Regions from separate parts of the Homo sapiens genome. Here region 2 is linked to region 1. Evidence: promoter capture Hi-C in human tissues and cell types (Jung and others, 2019). All regions are on one chromosome and are shown on one strand. Each heading gives the region's core, a stretch centred on a gene start or on the middle of the fragment in contact. The rest is flanking DNA. Distances are from core to core; before and after follow the strand shown.

Region 1 (5,036 bases), core at 112-2,611:
AGAGTCCACTTCGTCGCGACTCTCCAACACCTATTTTCTCCAGGAGCTGCTTCGGACCCGTTTGTTTTTTTTGTTTCGTTTTGTTTTGTTTTTCTGACAGCGACAGCCCTTGGGCAACGCTAATCATTCCAAGCAAATTCTGTCATGCCAAGACCTCCCTTAACAGCACGCGCCCACTTGTTTCCAACTCTCCTGCGAATTGGGCTTCGGGAGCCTCCGAAACCAAGGCTCGGAGATGTGGAGCGCACAGGGGAAGGGTCGAGCTGGGACCCACACCCGGCTCTTCCTCCCACACCGCCTGTTGAGCCCAAGGCTCAATTTCAACACAAAGCTCTCCTTCCCTCAATTCCTTCAACGACGGGTAACCTTCAACGAACACCTACCGGACCAGAACAGAGTGTACGAGCGGCGCGGGAAGGTGGCACAAAGGCATGGCCCAGAGGAGTGGCAGGAAGACTCAGCCGGGGCCCTCCACTCCCCAGCCTGCCCGGCCTGGGCAGAGCCGCCGGGCCGCCCGAGTCCTGGGGCTCGCGGAGGAACGGAGATGGCCTCCGCAGGGGCTCGCGGAAGCCCCCAGGGCGTCGGACCGTCTCACGCGCGCGTCCCGCGCCACTCACCTGTGGGACCCATAGCGTCGCCCGCTTCAGAGGTGGAAGCCGCCATTCCGCCACCGCGCCAAAACGTCGTCATCAAGCTGCGCGCAGAGCCACGCCCCGCGGCCGGGCGGGAAAAGCGCTTCTACCTCTTTGGGCCGTTACCTCAAAAGGTACGTGCGCAAAGCGAAGAAGGCCGGCCGGCCGGCCAGGGAGGGGAAATGGCGAGGCAGGAGTGCGGGGGGAGGGAGTGGTCCTTAGCTGAATGCGCCTGCGTTGTGGCGGCCTCTGGCGCCCCAAGGTAGGGCTCACGCACTTTCTCCCTAGCAAGGAATGCGCGTGCGCGTAAGCAGGGTTGTTGATTAGTGCCCCCCACCCCCCCCGAAGAGCGACCCCTAGTGGTGCACCGGTGCGGACCAGAAAATTGCACGCTTTCTTGAAACAGGTATTGACTGAGCGCCCAATGTATGCCTGGCACTGGGCTGGGTGCTGCCACCTAAGCGAGCACGACCAATGCAAGTCTATCAGGGACGCCCTGACCGCCAAGCAGCTGGCCCCTGCAGTCCGCCATGCCACTCCCGACGCCTAGCGCGCCGCTCAGCACACCGTGAGCGCCCACTAACTGTTGGGCTCCAATGACGCCGAGGAGGCGGCCCCGTCCCCGCGCTCCCGCCGCTCCCGCCAGGGCAGCCCGGGAGGCCAGACGCTGGCGCTGCAGGGAGAGGGCGGTGGGCGCATCCGCTAGGGGGCGCGGCGGGGCGGGGCGCACCTTTCGGCGGGCCTCGCGGATGGCGGCGCAGGGCGTAGGGCCTGGGCCGGGGTCGGCGGCGCCCCCGGGGCTGGAGGCGGCCCGGCAGAAGCTGGCGCTGCGGCGCAAGAAGGTGCTGAGCACCGAGGAGATGGAGCTGTACGAGCTGGCTCAGGCGGCGGGCGGCGGTATCGACCCCGACGTGTTCAAGTGAGCGGGGCGGGTGGGGGCCGCATGCTCGCCAGACACCCCCGACCTCTGCTCTCCGGGTACGCCCGGCCCGCTGGTCGGGAGGAGCCCCCGCTGCCCCCGCCCCCGTCCTTGTCCGGTCTTCAGGGAGGTGGCCGCGCCGGGCGGAGAGGGCTCACCGGCCCCGCGTCTGTCCCCGCCAGGATCCTGGTGGACCTGCTGAAGCTGAACGTGGCCCCCCTCGCCGTCTTCCAGATGCTCAAGTCCATGTGTGCCGGGCAGAGGCTAGCGAGCGAGCCCCAGGACCCTGCGGCCGTGTCTCTGCCCACGTCGAGCGTGCCCGAGACCCGAGGTCAGAGCTGGGCCCGCTGTCCCTGCCCCAGTGGCGGGGGTGGCGGGCGGGGAGGGGGCAGGCGCGGCACAGCGGCGGCGTGGCCCTGAGTGGCCAGGCCTGTCTGTCGGTCGGTCTAGGCCCAGCACCTGCAGGGCCCATCCGTGGGCTCTGCTCCTGGGCTTCGCTGCCAGCCTTAGGAGGCACGTCCAGGTCAGGTGGACGCAGAGTGCGTGCCCCAGGGTGGTCCAGGCTGGGTAGGGCTCCTCCGCTTAGCTCCTCCCCACCTCTTCACTCAGGCCTTCATCCTACAAAGTCGGGAATCAAGACGGTTTGGGGCTGGGCGCCGTGGCTCACGCCTATAATCTTTGGGACCCCACGGCGGGAGGATCCTTTGAGGCCATGAGTTTGAGACCAGTCTGGGTGACAGGGTGAGATCCTGTCTCTAAATGTTTTTCAAAAGACAGTCTCGATCTCTGTCCTGTGGTATACAGCATCCAGGGAAGTGCCCAGGGAGCAGGGCAGGCAGACGTCTTCCTGCCTTTACCCCACCTGGGCCCAGTTCCTGCCTCTGATGATTGCAGGAAGAGAGTTAGACGCGGAACTCCCAGGGTGCAGAGGCCTGCGGGGTCTGAAGGGCCTCCTCCCTCTCCAGTGTGGTGACTGGGCTGAGGAGATGCTGGGACTGAGAGTGTCATGGTGGAGCCTCCGTCCCTGCTCATCCTCTCCGCATGTTGCTTCTGCTCCCGATGGCTCTCTCTGAAATGCAGCACAACCTCCCAGGCCAATGGAAGGAGGCCCAGAGCTGGCTCCCTGCCTGGAAGCAGGAGGAGACCCTCACAGGCATCATGAGAAGGCGTGGAAAGCAGGCTGCCTTCATGGGGGAAGTGCCAGGGCCTGGGCACCCACGCCCGCTGACCCAAGAGGGCCCGGGCACCTGCGTGCTGGCCTCTTCACTGACCCTCGCTCTGTCTGCTCTCTTTGTGTCTCTCTCTGACCTCCAGAGGCCTCCTTTCTCTCTGCCAGGAACAGTAGCCCCCCTGCAAGGCCCTCGTTTTCCTCCAGCCCGCAGCCTGCGGCCTCTCTGGTTATGCTCCACAGCCCAGCTGCCACACACTCACCTCTCTCTCCAGGCCCCCCGGGTTCCCTCCGCCTCTCTTGCTGCCTGTTCTCTCCTTTTGCAGGTTGCGTTTATTGGCTTATCTCTGGGGGTTGGTGCTCTTCCTTGTTTTCATGGAAACTGCATGGCCCCAAGAGGCCCAAGCAGCTTTGAGCTGCAAGGGCAGGATCATGCAGGCCACCGCTGCCCTGCCGCTTAGCCACAGGGCACTATTTCTGACTCGGTTTATTAGAGACATGGTGTGGCAGTCTCTAGACCCCACAGTCGGGCTGGCATCCGGGGACAGGACCAACATCCCCACACCCCAGAGGCGAACTAGTGGTGAGTGTAAAGAGCCCCTCTCCAGGGGAAGACAGCCAGCCGGGTGCAGTGTGCTCTGCTGGAGAGCACAGCCCCAGGCGTGACAAACGCCTCGGCCTCTTAGAAGTTGTCCCCTACCTGGACAGGAAGTCTGGAGGCTGAAACAGAGACTCCCACCTTCCCAGAGTCTGCCAGGCAGTGCCACACAGATGCCATGTGCTGGTCCCATGGCCACACTCCAGCACTCAGCCCCCTTGCCCGCCTCACTCCTGAGTTGGGACACTTTCCAGGTGTCACCAGGTGTGATCAGGGGCCTGTGAGAGCCCAGGGGTCTTTGGTCGCGCCTCCTGCATGAGCCTCCTGACAGCGGCCACCTCACTGCCACCCAGAGCTCAGGCCCAAGAGAGGGTGGAGAGGGCCTGAAGGACAGGCCTGGAGTAGGGGTGTATGGACTGCAGGCTGAGATGAGCAATTGAGGGGCAAGTGTCCAGCAGGAGGGAGAAACTGGGAACAGAGTTCTTGTCACTCCAGGAGATGTTGCTGCTCACTTAGCACTCACTCAGGGCTCTGGGTGCCAGGCCTAGCTCTCAGGGCAGAGGGCGTGGCAGGGAAGTGAGATGATCACACTCAGTCCAGTGAGAGGCAGTGAGGAAAACCACCAGTGAGACCAGTGTGCTGGCTCACACCTGTAATCCCAGCACTTCGGGAAGTCAAGGCAGGTGGATTCCTTGAGCTCAGGAGTTCAAGATCAGCCTGGGCAACATAGCAAGACCCCATCTCTACAAAAAATACAAAAACTAGCCAGGCAGGGCCCGGCGCGGTGGCTCACGCCTGTAATCCCAGCACTTTGGGAGGCTGAGGCGGGCGGATCTCGAGCTCAGGAGATCGAGACCATCCTGGCTAACACGGTGAAACCCCATCTCTACTAAAAATACAAAAAAAAAATTAGCCAGGCATGGTGGCAGGTGCCTTTAGTCCCAGCTACTTGGGAGGCTGAGGCAGGAGAATGGCGTGAACCTGGGAGGTGGAGCTTACAGTGAGCCAAGATTGCGCCACTGCACTCCAGCCTGGGTGACAGAGCGAGACTCCATCTCAAAAAAAAAAAAAACTAGCCAGGTGGGCGTGGTGGTGGCGCCCATCTGTATTCCCAGCTACTTGGGAGGCTGAGGTGGGAGGATTGCCTGAGCCTGAGGGGGATGTTGCAGTGAGCCAAGAGCTTGTGACTGGACTCCAGCCTGGGCAACAGAGCAAGACCCTGTCTCAAAAAAAAAAAAAGAAAAGAAAGGAAAAGAAAAACCACTAGCAATGGAGTTGGGAGGAGGCTTCAGAGCCCAGAGAGCAGCAAGGGTTACACAGGGTGGAGCAGGAAGGGTCAGCAGAGCCCCACACGTGTGAGCTGGGGCAGTGGGAGGGCATGGGAGAGGCAGAGCGCTGTCCAGGTGCTGGTAGGCCCAGGGCAGGAGGAGGCAGGTGGGGGGGCACAGTCAAGATGTATGTGGGGGTTGTGGCACTGGAAATGCAGGCATAGAGGGGCCAGGAGGATTAGGGGGTGCCATGTGAGCGAATGGGGGCTCCAAGAGAATTTACCCGAGGACAGGAGTGGCCTGGAGTGCTGGGCCCCTCAGGGTCATTTGTTTCTCGAGGGCTGTGTCCTGGAAGCATAGCCCAGGTCCTGTAGGCTGGGTGGCAGAAAGCCACGACATGAGGGCACCGAGGCCCCATGGGGATAGAGTGGAACCTGAGGAGGAGGTGGAG
Region 2 (5,053 bases), core at 1,138-3,637, 170 kb before region 1:
CTAGGAGCACAGAAGGCCAAGGTTGGGGAGAGGCAGCAGAGAGAGTGGCCTCCCTTCGGCCCAGGTGGGAGGTTCACAGAGACACACTTCCTTCTTCCCCAAGGCAGGACTTGTTATAGTGAGCTTCAGGCAGTCTGGCTCTTAGGACTAACTAGGATGTCACCCTCCCTGCAGCATCCACCACTCCATAGACAACATGAGAGGAGTGTGTAAGTATAACTAGAACAAGCTAGTGTCCTGATATTCTCTGTGATGGAGGGGACAGCCCTCCTCAGAGACCCGGGGGGGCCCAGAACCATGGGCAGCCTGAACACACTTTACTTTCTCAGCAGTGAAAATCAGAACCCTGGCCTACTAAAGCAGAAATTAAAAAGAGAAAAACCTAAGTTCCTGCCTGTTCCAGGCTGACTCACTCCAAGGCCGTGCTAGAATTAAGATAACTTTATATACAAGGCCAGGAAGAGCCCAGAAGGAATGGACTCCAGGAACAGGGATGAGAAAAACAAGTTCTTATCAGCTTCCCCCTTTGAGATTCTTTCCCAGGCCAATATTTCTTTGTTCTGCTCTCATAACTATTTTTGTAACTATCTCTGTAAGTTTATAAGGATTTTTTAAGTTCCTGTTTTCCATCTGTGTGACCCTGAGAAGGTCACAAGACATGCCTGAGCAAGCCTAAAATAGTTACCATCTGCTGAGAGCCTGCTGGGTGGCCCAGCAGAGGTCATCAGACATGTTTGAGTCATACACTTGTCACTGTTTGATTAACTGCCTTTGTTCTGCTTCTGTAAGCTTGCTAAGCCCGCCCTGTAAGTTTTGCACAGCTGCATGCTTAAAAACCAGGCCCCGTCTTTTTTCCGGGCTCAGCCTTTTGGATGCAAATCCACTGGGCAAGTGGTCACTTTAATAAAATCCTCCTGTCTCACCCATTGGTCTCTCCAGTCTCTTGAATCCCTCAACACTAAGATGGCTCCAAGACAGCATGTGAGACTTAAGTAATAACTTTTTTGTTTGTTTGTTTGTTTTTATTTTTGTATGAGACTGGGTCTGGCTTTTTCACCCAGGCTGGAGTGCAGTGGTGCAATCACAGCTCACTGCAGCCACTTCCTGGGCTCAAGCCACCCTCCCACCTTAGCTTCCCAGGTAACTTAGGACTACAGGTGTACACCACTATCGCTGGCTAATTTTTGTATTTTTTCCAGAGACGAGGTCTCACTGTCTCACTGAGCTCAGGCTGGTCTCAAATTCCTGAGCTCAAGAGATTTACCAGTCTCAGCCTTCCAAAGTGCTAGGATTACAGGCATGAGACACTGTGCCTGGCCAGTAATTTTGTTTTATTATATTAAGGTGAGGTTTATACCACCTTCTTCTGATTACAGAAGTAATACATGCTCATTATGTAACACTGAAAATGTAAGCAGTATAAAAAAGAAAATAAAAAAGAATATGAAAATCACTAGTGGTCCCATTGTCTACTGATACACTATGTGCTGCTTCCTAATCTTTACTTCCTCTCCCTCCATGTGTGTCTTTGTGTGTTTGTGTGTGTGTCTGTCTGTGTGGTCTTTTTCTTGGCACATAGGACAATAGCTGACAATTATAGCTCCCCTACCAGTGTTGAGCATTGTGTTAAGCAATTAACAAAGTGGATTTTATTTAACTCCTACAGAAAACCTATAAAGGGGAAGGGCAGTATAATTAACAGAATTTCCCAGATGAAAAGACTGGGACCTGACTTGAGGTCACATTTTATATACAGCATTGTATTTTACTTCAGACACTTAACAAAGTAAGTGTCCTGGAGAATCTTGGTCTGTTAGTCTATATAATAACATAAGCATCTTTTGTAGGATTAATAGTTTTTCCAAAGCATGCCTGGAATGCTTGCATAACATTTTAGAGTTTAAATATGTTGTTTATTGCCAGGCATGGTGGCTCATGCCTGTAATCCCAGCATTTTGGGAATCCGAGGCAGGTGGATTGCCTGAGCTCAGGAGTTTGACACCAGCCTGGCCAACACAGTGAAACCCCATCTCTACTAAAATACAAAAAAATAGCCAGGCATGGTGGGGGTGCCTGTATTCCCAGCTACTTGGGAGGCTGAGGCAGGAGAAGTGCTTGAACCTGGGAGGTGGAGGTTGCGGTGAGCCGAGATTGTGCCACTGCACCCCAGCCTGGGCAAGAGTGAGACCTTGTCTCAAAAAAAAATGATTTTATCAAACCGTTTTCATCTTTGAAACATTTTAGGTCTCCTCTTTGGCTTTTTCGCATTATTAATAATACTGTGATAAACATCCTTCAGCAGAAACCTTCATAGGCTAGCTTCCTAGAAGTAGAGGTATTAGGTCCAAGGTTGTGAATTGTTTTAAAGCTATTTATTTTTCTGGATAAAATTGCTTCCAGAGATACTGTCCCATTGCATTGCAATCAGTGGATCTCACCTTCAGTATTTTGTGCAATTAAAAAAAAGAATGCTTCTCCTTTTAAAGATTATATTTAAAATAGCTTTTAAATATGAAAAATTTGTATCTACAAATAAGAGATAGTGAAAAAAATAATAAAAGAAACACAAAAGCAGAAAGTAGATGAAAACATTAAAATTCAAATCACAGGCCTCTGTCATGGAGAGGACAGCTGCAATAGCTTTTTTGTTCTTTTATCTCTGCTTGATACATTCTTCTTTTAATTAATTTTTACCCCAACTTAAGTGCTGGCTGAGTTGTCGATTTGTTGCTGGGATGGAAAGAAGAAATTTGCACCTTGTCTTTTGCAGGTTATGAAAGCCCTGTCTGTCCTCATGGTTATGTGGGGGTCTTTTAGATTATTGTGAATATTGAGCTTTGAAAATAACCTAACAGTCAATCAATTGCTGAGCTTCTATTACCAGTAGTGGGACACAATGTACATCATGTAGAGAGGCAGACTTGTCACTGACAAAAGGGTTGACCCCTGGAAAACCAGCACAGAGCCAGCTCTTCTGTCTGAATCCACTCTTTCCAAAACATAAGTCATGGAAAGAAATAAGAGTCTCAAGAAATGAGACTCTTACCGTGATGAGAGGGGGACCTTGAAAAGCTACTTTAGTGATTAGGGAGAGAAGTCCCTTTTTGCATCCCAAATCAAGCAGAGGACTGGTAGTCCAAATATAATTTCTGAATAACCTGAGTCACCTGGGCCCTGAGGAATCCTGGCCTCTTAGTCCACATTTGCAGAAATATCAGGAGGTCAATCAGGAAGCTGGTTAGGCATCTCAACACAGGGTCAAAAAGCTCCTAGGTATGCAAATAAATGTGCACACTGGAAATTGGTTCAGCAAGTTTTCCATGGCCTAGAGAACTATGATGATGAAAATGTTCTACATTTGTGCTGGCCAGTTCAGTAGCCACTAGCCACATGTGGCTATTGAGTAACTGAAATGTGGGTAGTACAACTGACCAGCTAAATTGTACAACTGACCAGCTAAATTGTAAATTGTTTTATTTGAATTAATTTTAATTTTAATAGTCATCTGGGGCTATTGGCTACTGTATTGGGTAGCACAGAGATGAGAAATAATAGAAACCTTTTTGTTTGGTTGTTTCAAGGGCTAACACTGTCAAAAGCTCAATTCCTGTTTTATGTAAGGTTTTGGTTTATATTTTCTCAAAGAAGTGAAGTACAGAAAAAAGAAAATAAAACAAAAGGATGATCAAGCAGAACTTTGGTAAAGAAGGGTGAAGCAGAGATACTTAACTCAGGGTGGGGACAACAGCAATGACCTTGTTTGAAACGCAGCTCCTGTCTCTGTGGCTCTCTGTGCTCTGCTGGGGCATCAGTTCCTTTACTTCTTAGTTAAAGCAGTTATTTCGATGATGCAATGCTTTTTTGCTCAATAAGCATGATTTTTTACACAGCTGGTTTATCTCCAGTATGGAAGCTCTCTGCTTAATCGTCTTGATTTTTCTGGGCTTGTTCCCACTCTGCAGATGTAAGCATGACACCTGTATCTCTCTCTCCAGGCTCTGATCTAGGATGACAGTTTCTATGTTGTGCCCATCTAGAGAAATACCCAAATTGCAACTTTAGGAAGAGAAAAAGAGGGCCCTGCAAAAGGCATCTACAGGCCCCATGTGCTGTTCACCTTTCTTATTTATGGGTGAAGTGAGTCCTCATCCATTTATTGGGCAGTTGCAAGCAAAGGAATTAACTGACTATGACAACTCACCTTGAGGTACAACAATTTTGTCTGTTTTGAGTTTCCACTGTTGAAAAAAACCTAGTTATTCTAATTAAGAATAGTTATAGATAGTACCTTTTTTTTTTTTTTTTTTTTTTTTTTTTTTTTTTGAGACAGGCTCTTGCTCTGTCACCCAGATTGGAATGCAGCAGCATGATCATGGCTCACTGCAGCCTCAACCTCCCTGGGCTCAGTGATTCTCCCACCTCAGTCTCCTGAGCAACTGGGAATGCAAGCACATGCCACCATGCCTAAATATTTTTTTTGATTTTGTTTTGTTTTGTAGAGATGGGGCTTTGCCATGTCACCTAGGTTGGTATTGATCTTCTGGACTCAAGTGATCCTCTCTCCTCAGCCTCCCAAAGTACTAGGATTACAGGTGTGAAGCAGCATGCCACGCCTATAGTGATATCTTTAAGTAAGCCTCTCCTATCTTTTTTTGAGCAGTTTTTCAAAGCAACAGGCACCTTATTAAATTAGAAAGTTGATGTGCTTCCCTAATGCCTACTAATGAGGTAAAGAACTAAAGAACCTCTGTGATTTCAATGAAGTCCCTTCAGATGTTATGGGCTACTTGTTACTGACAAGTATGGTAGGAACTGTAGGTCAAGCTGTCATAGGCAAATAGATCTTGCTGAAGAGGAAGAATTATTGGCTAAGATAACACCCTAGGACACCTGGCATACTTTAGACACAGCTAAATTGAATGCTTTCTGAGGAGGAGTGTATTAATCTGTTCTCACACTGCTATAAAGATATACATGAGAGTGGGTAATTGAAAAAGAAAAGGGATTGAATTGGCTCACAGTTCCGTGGGCTGTACAGACTTATGCTTATAGG

The links. The method cuts DNA at HindIII sites, captures the fragments that hold promoters and counts their contacts. A contact is called where the count stands out against the background at its distance.
Region 2: a contact is called between a fragment that was not itself captured here and the fragment with the promoter of MZT2A in region 1, in 2 of the 25 tissues and cell types used here (lymphoblastoid cells and mesenchymal stem cells).

The regions. Positions count from the first base shown.
Region 1 is chr2:131,488,722-131,493,757 of GRCh38, reverse strand. MZT2A (mitotic spindle organizing protein 2A) reads left to right here and starts at 1,361. Exons shown (of 3, transcript NM_001085365.2): 1 at 1,361-1,551; 2 at 1,734-1,882. The coding sequence starts at 1,382. It overlaps MIR4784 (microRNA 4784), which reads left to right and starts at 2,522; the gene lies at 2,522-2,598. It also overlaps the pseudogene SMPD4BP. RefSeq lists silencers at 421-610, 1,131-1,640 and enhancers at 443-1,236, 1,237-2,030. The HindIII fragment of the contact is 8,382 bases long and covers 1-4,910 here.
Region 2 is chr2:131,664,720-131,669,772 of GRCh38, reverse strand. No RefSeq gene overlaps it. Among named protein-coding and RNA genes, the nearest start is that of LINC03124, 15 kb to the left of the region's middle. RefSeq lists an enhancer at 598-777 and a cis regulatory region at 570-877. The HindIII fragment of the contact is 4,481 bases long and covers 147-4,627 here.